Linked DNA regions of Homo sapiens: region 1 is linked to region 2. The links are contacts of gene promoters, found by promoter capture Hi-C in human tissues and cell types (Jung and others, 2019). All regions are on one chromosome and are shown on one strand. Each heading gives the region's core, a stretch centred on a gene start or on the middle of the fragment in contact. The rest is flanking DNA. Distances are from core to core; before and after follow the strand shown. Region 1 overlaps PDZRN4 (PDZ domain containing ring finger 4). Region 2 holds the start of ZCRB1 (zinc finger CCHC-type and RNA binding motif containing 1).

The links. Contacts are between HindIII fragments. The study calls those that stand out against the background at their distance.
Region 1: a fragment that was not itself captured here is called in contact with the fragment with the promoter of ZCRB1 in region 2 in 1 of the 25 tissues and cell types used here (dorsolateral prefrontal cortex).

The regions. Positions count from the first base shown.
Region 1 is chr12:41,234,604-41,239,614 of GRCh38, reverse strand. All of the region lies in intron 3 of PDZRN4 (PDZ domain containing ring finger 4), which reads right to left. Among named protein-coding and RNA genes, the nearest start is that of PDZRN4, 49 kb to the right of the region's middle. The HindIII fragment of the contact is 3,362 bases long and covers 1,046-4,407 here.
Region 2 is chr12:42,324,157-42,329,243 of GRCh38, reverse strand. ZCRB1 (zinc finger CCHC-type and RNA binding motif containing 1) reads left to right here and starts at 3,150. Exons shown (of 8, transcript NM_033114.4): 1 at 3,150-3,320. PPHLN1 (periphilin 1) reads right to left here and starts at 3,077. Exons shown (of 10, transcript NM_201439.2): 1 at 3,015-3,077. RefSeq lists an enhancer at 3,405-3,454. The HindIII fragment of the contact is 5,260 bases long and covers 1-5,087 here.

The DNA of each region.
Region 1 (5,011 bases), core at 1,477-3,976, 1.1 Mb after region 2:
TACCTGGTAGTACTCAGCTAATATTTGGTAAATGAATTGAACACAGTAAAGCATGTAATTTCCCTATGTTATTACACTATTTCCAAATTGGGAAAACAGAACAGGTGGCAGATTTATCCCCTATAGTATTTTTTCCTTCAACTTTTATTTTAAGTTCAGGGATACATGTGCATGTTTGTGACATGGGTAAACATGTGCCATGGTGGTTTGCTGCACAGTTCAACCCATCACCTAGGTATTAAGGCAAGCATTTACTAGCTATTCTTCCTGATGCTGTCCCTCCCCACAACATTCCTCCACCCAACAGGCCCCAGTGTGTATGGTTCAGCCCGCATGTGTCCATGTGTTCTCATCATTCAGCTCCCACTTGTAAGTGAGAACATGTGGTGTTTGGTTTTCTGTCCCTGCGTTAGTTTGCTGAGGATAATGACTTCCAACTCCATCCATGCCCCTGCAAAGGACATGATCTTGTTCCTTTTTATGGCTGCATACTATTCCATGGTGTATATTTACCACATTATCTTTATCCAGTCTATCATTGATGGGTATTCAGGTTGATTCTATGTCTTTGCTATTGTGAATAGTGCTGCAAAGAATATATGCATGTAGGTGTCTTTACAATAGAATGACCTCTAGTCCTTTGGGTATACTACTCAGTAATAGGATTGCTGGGTCAAATGGTATTTCTGCCTCTAGGTCTTTGAGGAATCACCACACTGTCTTTCACAGTGTTTGAACTAATTTGCATTCTCGCCAACAGTGTAAAAGCATTCCCTTTTCTATACAACCTCGCCAGCATCTGTTGTTTTTTTATTTTATTTTTTAATAATAGCACTTCGGAGTTTTTTATTTTTTATTTTTTAATAATAGCCATTCTGAGGTTTTTTATTTTATTTTTTATTTTTTAATAATAGCCATTCTGACTGGTATGAGATGGTATCTCATTGTGGTTTTGATTGGAATTTCTCTAATGATCAGTGATGTTGAGCTTTTTTTCTTGTGCTTTTTGGCTGCGTGTATGTCTTCTTTTGAGAGGTGTCTGTCCATGTTCTTTGCCCACTTTTTAATGGGGTTGTTTGTTTTCTTTCTTCTAAATTTGTTTAAGTTCCTTGTAGACTCTGGATATTAGACCTTTGTCAGATGGACAGGTTGCAAAAATTTTCTCCCATTCTGTAGGTTTTCTGTTCACTCTAATGATAGATTCTTTTGCTGTGCAGAAGCTCTGTAGTTTAATTAAATCCCATTTGTCAAATTTAACCTGATAAGCAACTTCTGCAAAGTCTCAGGATACAAAATCGATGTGCAAAACATTACTAGCATTCCTATACATCAACAGCAGGCAAGCAGAGAGAGCCAAATCATGAATGAACTATCATTTACAATTGCCACAAAGAGAGTAAAATACCTAGGAATACAGCTGACAAGGAAAGTGAAGGCCCTCTTCAAAGAGAACTACAAACCACTGCTCAAGGAAATCAAAGAAGACACAAGCAGATGCAAAAACATTCCATGCTCATGGTTAGAAAGAATCAATATCGTGAAAATGGCTGTACTGCTCAAAGTAATCTATAGAGTCAGTGTTATTCCCGTTAAACTACCATTGACATTCTTCACAGAATTAGAAAAAAAACTATTTTAAAATTCATATGGAAAGAAAAAAGAGCCTGAGTAGCCAAGACAATCCTAAGCAAAAAGAACAAAGCTGGAGGCATCACGCTACCCAACTTCAAACTGTACTACAAGGCTTTAGTAACCAAAATAGCACGGTACTGCTACAAAAACAGACACATAGACAAATGGAACAGAATAGAGATCTCAGAAATAAGACCACGCACCTACAACTATGTGAATTTTGACAAAGCTGACGAAAACAAGCAATGGAGAAAGGACTCCCCATTTAATTAATGGTGCTGGGAGAGCTGGCTAGCCATATGCAGAAAATTGAAACTGGACCCCTTCCTTACAACTTATACAAAAATTAACTCAAGATGGATTAACGACTGAACTGTAAAACCCAAAATTATAAAAATCCTAGAAGAAAATCTAGGCAATACCATTCAGGACATAGGTATGGGCAAATATTTCATGACAAAAATGTTAAAGTATTAAATTAGATTATTTTACCATACATTACAAAGCAACACATACTGGGAATACAGTAGCAATAAAATCAGGAAAGCTTGTAATTGAGACATTTATTTAAACATCTATAGCAATAACATGGCCAATATGATCCATAAAGGTGTTTGCTACAAACGTGCCCATATTTAGTGACCTTAATTTTGTCAGATGTTTTATACTTCCATTTTATGAGAAAAAACTAGGAAATACATTTCTTTTTAAAATATTATGAAATAATTACTTTATTTCATCAAGTATTTCTGGACTGTATGCTCTGTCCATTTGAAAACTCTAGATTCCCATTTTTCCCAAGAAGTGCCTATGAGGGGGCACCAGTATCAAGAAGGTATAATGATTACAAGTTAATATCACCTAATTATGTTTTTTATTTTCATGTTTTATTTTTCCAGTGATGCAAGTTAGTTTTGTGAATTCTAATCCTTCTTGCCTTTTTGCAATCTGTTACTTATGTTAAATGTTTCCTGTGTAAACATTTGAAATGTTATCAGTCTTCCATTTTTAGAGTATAATATTATGAAAAAGACATTTTCTATCTTCTCTGGAGCCCCCTCTTCAATAAACCCCACACATAAAATAAAATAGATGCAGAAGCTTAAAATATAAATTGTTATGGGGCTATGAAAGAAAATCCAAGTATCTATGGTCTTATCACACCTTCCTTATTCTATTGATTGTGCTGAAATTCAGAAAGAATGGTGAGCTAATAAAGTGGGAAGAAAAAATTAAGATCTAGGTCTAATTGTTTCACTTGCCATATTGGCAAAAAGAAACAAAAAAACAATCCCCAGACTGTCATATGCTATGACATCCAAATCTATCACCTCTTCAGAGTCCCACTCCCCCACACCCATTCAAGTCCTCATTATCTATTGCCCATACTATTGAAAAGGCCTCCTAACTGACCTTTCTTCTCTCTTAGTCTCTTTTCCTTCATCTCTAATTTGTTTTGCAATGCACCAGCCTTATCTTCTTCTCCTTCTATAAAATCCTAAAACAGGCACCAACATGACACCCAAGGCTCTCTGTAATCTTGCCCTAAATGAGCCTCCCGCCTCACCTTCGTTTCCTCTGTGCTCCAGCCATGCCAGATTTCCCAATGCTCAGTCCAAGTACTGTGAAGCACCCTGCCCCCAATTCTGCTATGTCTCACTCTGTCATACACATCTGAAATGCCACTTCCTTCAAGGTGATTTCTTTGATCTTTGATCCCTGCAAAGAATCAATCTTTCCTGCCTTTGTGCTACAAAGGCACAAATAAGATAATTTTCTTCTGTCCCTCATGACATTTGTACATTTACTTTTATCTGTGTTATATTAAAGGTAGTCTTTCTTATTCACTAGATTGCAAACTTCTTTGGTTAGAAACTATTCAATCACTCTTCAATGTCTTTTAATCTAGGTGCTCAGTAAACATGGGTTATCAGACTGTAAAAAATATTTCAAATAAATGTAGAGTTTATTTTCTCTGGGATTAATTTGATTCCTGAAATGGCTAAGTTACTAACTTACACAGTTAAATATAACTCTTTAGCTTTAATTTAACTTTGAAAGTTCAACAATGAAAAAAAATGAGTGTTATACATTTGGAAATGAAATTACGTAATGCTGATGCCTGGTAATGTTCAAGCTGGTTAAACAAATATTTTTGGTGTGCCTGTGATACACAAAGCTTTAAGTTTGTGCATATCTATGCATTTCATCAAAGGTTGTAAACTGATTGCCTGTATGCCAAATGGCCCCTGAGGCCCGCGTGTATGTGGTTTGGTTCTTCATAGAGGGTTTTTAAAATTTTCAAACCAGCATTTAAAAATTGAGATGTTTTACATCTAAATTTAGGTTTCTATTTTTTTCTAAAAAACATAAGGTCTAGCATTTCTGGGCCCACATGCTTTTAAATTAACTTATGTGTCTAGTTCCCCAAAATCCTCACCATTCAAAAGCACACTGTGTGCATAGGAACTCACTCCCTGATCCTTCATGGGTGAAGTCTGCCTAGCCCTTCTAAGTTTTTCGAATGTGTGGCCCTGGTTAATATAATTGCTTATCTTCTTTGTTAGTTTAATATTTTCTAAGAAAAACTATAATATTGAAAAGCTAAACTTTAAACCCATATTGTTTTTAGTTTTGTTTCATTTTTTGGCCTTTTTCTTATTTTCCTAGGAGGTATATATTGTTGCAAAAGAAACACAATGGCACAATAATACATCAGGTGAGAAGGTCCTAGGGCTTGAGACATACCTATTGCTATCAAGATGAAGAGTTCATATTTGATTGTACTACTTTAAAAGTTTATATCTGAACAACATAAAATTACAGTGCTCATCTCCAAACCAGTATTCTTTAATTCTTACTTTATAATTGATAAGACAGACGAGGCATATTTAGGAATTCAGCATATTTCAATGCTCTGAAAGGTGTTTCTAATAGGTTTCTAAAGGACTGTGTGTTTAGGTAACCTTCTAACCCCTTCCGGTGTAGGTTAGTGGGGTCATTTACACAGACTGTTGGCTGGCTTCAAAAGCTGGGGTCTGAGGAGTGCCAGGAATGCATCCTTCCTCAGTCTCTCAGCCGGTCCACTTCAATTAGTCCCATATTTATTCACTCGTGCTCATTGACATTTCATCTTTGAAGGCTGAGACAGGCTGTCTCCATCTGTCGTAGGGTTAAGTAACCATCTCCAATTTCAGGAGATTCAATGAGCTAGAAAATACAGCTCTCATCCAACCAACTTTTAAAGGACACATTTATATAACTACTGAAGAGCAACTGAGAAAAGAAAACGTTGTCCTTTAGGGTTTTTATGCATGTGATTATTCCATCCCATACATGACTAATATGTACATTTAGATGAACCGCAAAAGCTTCCTAT
Region 2 (5,087 bases), core at 1,901-4,400:
TGTAGTCCCAGCTACTCGGAAGGCTGAGGCAGGAGAATGGCATGAACCCGGGAGGGGGAGCTTGCAGTGAGCCAAGATCGCGCCACTGCACTCCAGCCTGGGTGACAGAGTGAGACTCCGTCACACACACACACAAAAAAAAAAAAAAATTGAAATTCCAGACAACTAAACATAAATTTTAGAACATAATTAGTTAAGGTCATTGAAAAAAAAAAATTAACTGATGCTGGGGCTGGGTGCGGTGGCTCATGCCCGTAATCCCACCATTTTGGGAGGCTGAGCCTGGCGGATCATTTGAGGTTGAGAGTTCAAGATCAGTCTGGCCAACATAGTAATACCCCGTCTCCACTTAAAAAATATACAAAAATTAACCAGGCATGGTGGGACATGCCTGTAATTCCAGCTACTCAGGAAGTTGAGGCAGGAGAATCCCTTGAACCTGGGAGATGGAGGTTGCAGTGAGCCATGATCGTGCCACTGCACTCCAGCCTGGGCAACAGAGCAAGACACCGTCTCAAAAAATAAAAAAATAAAAAGTACTGCATTCTCTACTAGTTTCACAAGTCACTTGACTTTCCAACGCTTTAAGGATACTTCTTTTATAAGCCCGAATGTACTGCACTAAACTTAGTAGGAGATCCCTGATTGTCCATTATAATTGATCAATTAACTGAAATTACACAAGTAAACAAAAATGCCAGATGTCTGCCTACATATAATATTTATAAATCTGAATTTTATTTCATATATGGATGGAAGTTAAGGCCTTAACCGGTCAGCCTCCTTCCAGTGTTTTACCCTCCATTTTACCCTAAAAAAGGATAATCAACTGTTAACGCATATTCATAATGTGAAGTTTCCAGGATCAAGAATCCAAGAGGTTTTTTATTAACCATAATAAATCCAAACTTCTATCTTCCATATGCCTCCTTCTATTATATCTAACCTTCTATTCTCTCCAAAAGCATATAATTATGCCTGTTTCCTTACTGTGCCACAAACAGACTAACACATACTACCACGGAGCTGTTTATTTTCCAAACGGGATATCTTTTTCCATTCTCTCATTCAACATCCAACGGTCCATCAAGGCCCAACTCAAAACCTATTATTCTCCACAAAGCCCATTATATAAACCCTACAAGACTTAAAACAGATTCCAAACTAGTGACTGATAGGCCATATGAGACTTGTGTTTGACCCACTTTTTTTTTTTTAATAAAATTCTATTCCACTGACAACATTTAAAAACTGGGAGAGGATGCTTTTTAAAAAATGGTATTTCCAACTTTTTTTGAAAAAATTAGATGTTCTGGCAAAACTGGGATCATATTCTCACATAGCCACAATCAGCTGTAGCTGAGTGGCAGGTGACCCCTTCTAAGGGTGAAGTATTCATTAACGTTAACTGCCTGATCTCTGCAGCATACCTTCAGCACCTGCAATCATTCAAGAAATAACTGACTGTCTTATGTGCCAAGAACTGTATTAGCTACTGGAGTTACAAAGATAAACGAGACAAACACAGTCCCTCACCGACAGTCTCGCTTAGTAGGGATGGCAAAGAAGCAATTAAGATACATGTGATAAATGCCGTGAGGGAAGTGCAGGACAGCTAAGAGTACATAGCAAAAATACCTAACTCTATGGAAGTTAGGGTATACCCCTCAAGTAAAGTGACAGCTAAACTCAGATCTTTAATAGAAGTTATCCAGAAAAAGATAGGAGGAAACAGGGAGCTCAAATGTCCCAGAGAGAGAAAAGAGCCTTTGTGAAGATACTGAGGGAAGAAAGTATTCTGAGGAATTGAAATCCGTTCAACATGGCTACAGCCATGCCCAACCTTTAAATGCAGGGTCAGAGAAAGGGCTCAACTGAAATGGCTGGCAGGAAAATCTACGTGTTATCAATAGTTAAGGTTAGGAGATGAAGGAGAATTTCACTAAAGAAGTTGAATATGTAAAATAGTTTAAGCAGGAAATAGAGGTTTCAGAAAGCACAGATGGGGTGTTGAGGGGTTAAATGGGGAAGAAACGAAGAAGCAGTGATAGCCTAAGTCGAAAGAAAGCACAAAGCAGCATGGAAATGAGACTATAGCACAGAAGACCACAGAAGCTTACATCTTGGGCGGTAACCAAGGATAACAGAGATGTAAAGCATGGTAAGTTTGGCTGGCCACAAGTATGCCTAGAGAATTAGTGCCAGCGGTCTCCTGTCGGCCACGGAGGCATTCAGGCCTCTCAAAATTCAGCTGCGCCCTGGATGGATTGTACTTCCGTCTCTATAGAAGACATCGGCTTCACTCTGGATTGATTGTGCAGGCTCCAGGAGAGGCTGTGGGTTCCAGGCTGCTGGAACGCAGGCTCCCAGGGAGTGGTTAGAGGCCTGGTCTGTATGTGCTGGTAGGCAGAAGTATAAATTACCTTGCATTACGTTCTGATTTTTCTGTAGGAATGGTGGGCATGTTATGGCCTCTTAGAGAAAAAGCAGTGCGTAGCCATTATAGATTTACAGGAAGAGAAAAGGTGCCAAGAAGATCAACACTTGTCCATACCCATACTAAAGATGAGTCATTCTGTGAATCCAACTCTCCCCAAGTTGACCTCGTCTCCCCAACTAGACTGAGATCTTCACCAGAAAACAAAACAAAACAAAACATAAAAGGTCTGTTTATTTTGTAGTTCCCAAAGTGCCTAATAGCTGGGTACCGTGAACACCTTCAGTAAAATTACCGACTTCCTGACTCCTCTCGGGTCACTGAAGTTACCTAGCTCAGTCGTCTTCTTGCATATTAAGGCGCTACAGAGAGGCGAACCCCTATCTTAGACTCAATACTTCCCTTTATTCCAAACTCCACTGCGTCTCTCCACCCTCAACCGCATGGGCAGAATTGTCACACAATTCAAAGGCAGGAGAATCCAGGACCCGACACAGAAAACTCCCGCCCACTCCCCCCCGTTTAGCAGCCCGCACACGCTCTGCATCCATCTCTGGGAAAGGTAAAAAGCGCTCACCGACTCTGGCCCTCCGGGAGACCCCGTAAATGCAGCCGTCCGCTCGCCGCCGTTATCCCAGGTAGGTACTTCCGGCGCGCGCAATGACGTTAGCGAAGCGCTCGCCTCTGGGCCCGCCTTCGGGGCCCGGATCTCAAACAGTCGGGAAGAAGCACCGTGGCTGCTATTATCTGCTCTCCGCGCCTGACCCCTCCCAGGACTCGTGATGCCAAGGCCGCTGCGAGCGGCTACGAAGAGTCGGGGTTGAGCCCCAGCTGAGCCGAGGGCTCGCACTCTTCTGGTCTCCCAGGCCCAACCCACCTGAAGGTAAACGCCTCCTCAGCTGCGGCCTTCTCTCCTGCGGGGCCCCCTCCCCAGACTCGGCTGCCAAAACGCTCTGCCCCTCTCTCCCGCCACCCTTTTTATTCCAGGACCTTAACCTCTGCCTGCCTTCGCGGCTCTCAGCAGAACGTGTAACGCATAGTTTCAAATGAGAAACTTAAAAAGCGACGTATCTATGTTGAGTTCCTGAAGTTTTCTAAATAATTCCCCCATAACACCAAACATGAGGCAGTTTTCTCATTCCTTCACGAATTGGCATGCCATAGAGTCAGTATTTTTCCATTTGTGATGGTTGATCTTCCCATCTCAAATACACACCGCACGCTCTTTTTAAATCAGAAATTTGAATTTGGTTGAGCCTGATATTTTCACGGTAATTTGCTGACTTTGTAAGATAAGATGTGAAAATTACTGATTACATTTGTAAACTTTATATACATATACACACATACCTACAGGTCTGTCTCTTCGAGGCACCAAGCCTATTTATATAATGTATCATTTCATAATTTGGCAATAAGCAAAATTAGCGTTTCGAAAGAAGTTTATATTGTCGATACATAAAGCTTAAATTTACTCCTTAACATCATACTAAAAGGGGAAAAGAAAATTTTCCTCTTAACACACCACTCCAGAGAAAAAAAATATTAAGACAAGCAAAAAAGGTACCCAGCCATAGTACAGGCATGCACAGCATAACAACTTTTTGATTAACAACAAACCACATATACCACAGTGGTCTCCTAAGAGTGTAATACATTGTACCATATTTTTAGTGTACGTTTTCTGTGTTTAGCTATGTAAATATTTACCATTGTGTTTCAACTGTCTACATTATTCACTACATTAACATGCTGTACAGGTTGTAGCCTAGGAGCAATAGGCTAGACCATCTAGGTTTGTCTCAGTACACCCTGTGATGTCTGCACTGTGAAATCACGTAACACTCAGAACATACCTCCTTCATTAAGCATAGCATGACTGTGTATTAGCAAAAATCAGTGGCTAAGGTTCTGTCTGAGTCCCCATGCTCTTTCTGACCTGGGTGAGCAAGGTGCAGGTAATGTACATATACAGTACATATTCAATAGAGCATTTTTTTTGCTCATGGTCTGAGTGGAAGTTAGGAGTAGCCTCAGGGTTTTTCCTTCATCTGTTCAAAACCCGTCTCCCTACCCATACAATCTGGCACTGAAAGTGTTGGTATAAAGAATACTTGAAAGAAGAAGAACCAAAAAAGAATTTTTTTTAAGTGGTGACTGGGAAAAAGGAATTCCTTAATTCAGCCTGCTGGAGTCATTGTTCCTAACTTCCTAAAATGTAAGGAAGGTGTACACATCTGGCATAATTAAATCGGTGATTGTTAATACTTTATTGGTTTTTGTTTTTTGTTTTTTTCCAAATAATACCCAGACTGGTCTGATGTATTGGTTTTATTTGGAATTAATAATACTTGGTTTAGGCCAGGTGTGGTGATTCATGCCTGTAATCCCAGCACTTTGGGAGGCTGAGGCAGGTGGATCATTTGAGGTCAGGAGTTCAAGACCAGCCTGACCAACATGGTGAAACACTGTCTCTACTAAAAATACAAAATTAGCCAGGCATGGTAGTGGATGCCTATAATCCCAGCTACTCGGGAGGCTGAGGCAGGATAATTGCTTGAACCTGGGAAGCAGAGGTTGCAGTGAGCCGAGATCACGCCATTGCACCCCAGCCTGGGCAACAAGAGGGAAACTCCGTCTCAAACAACAA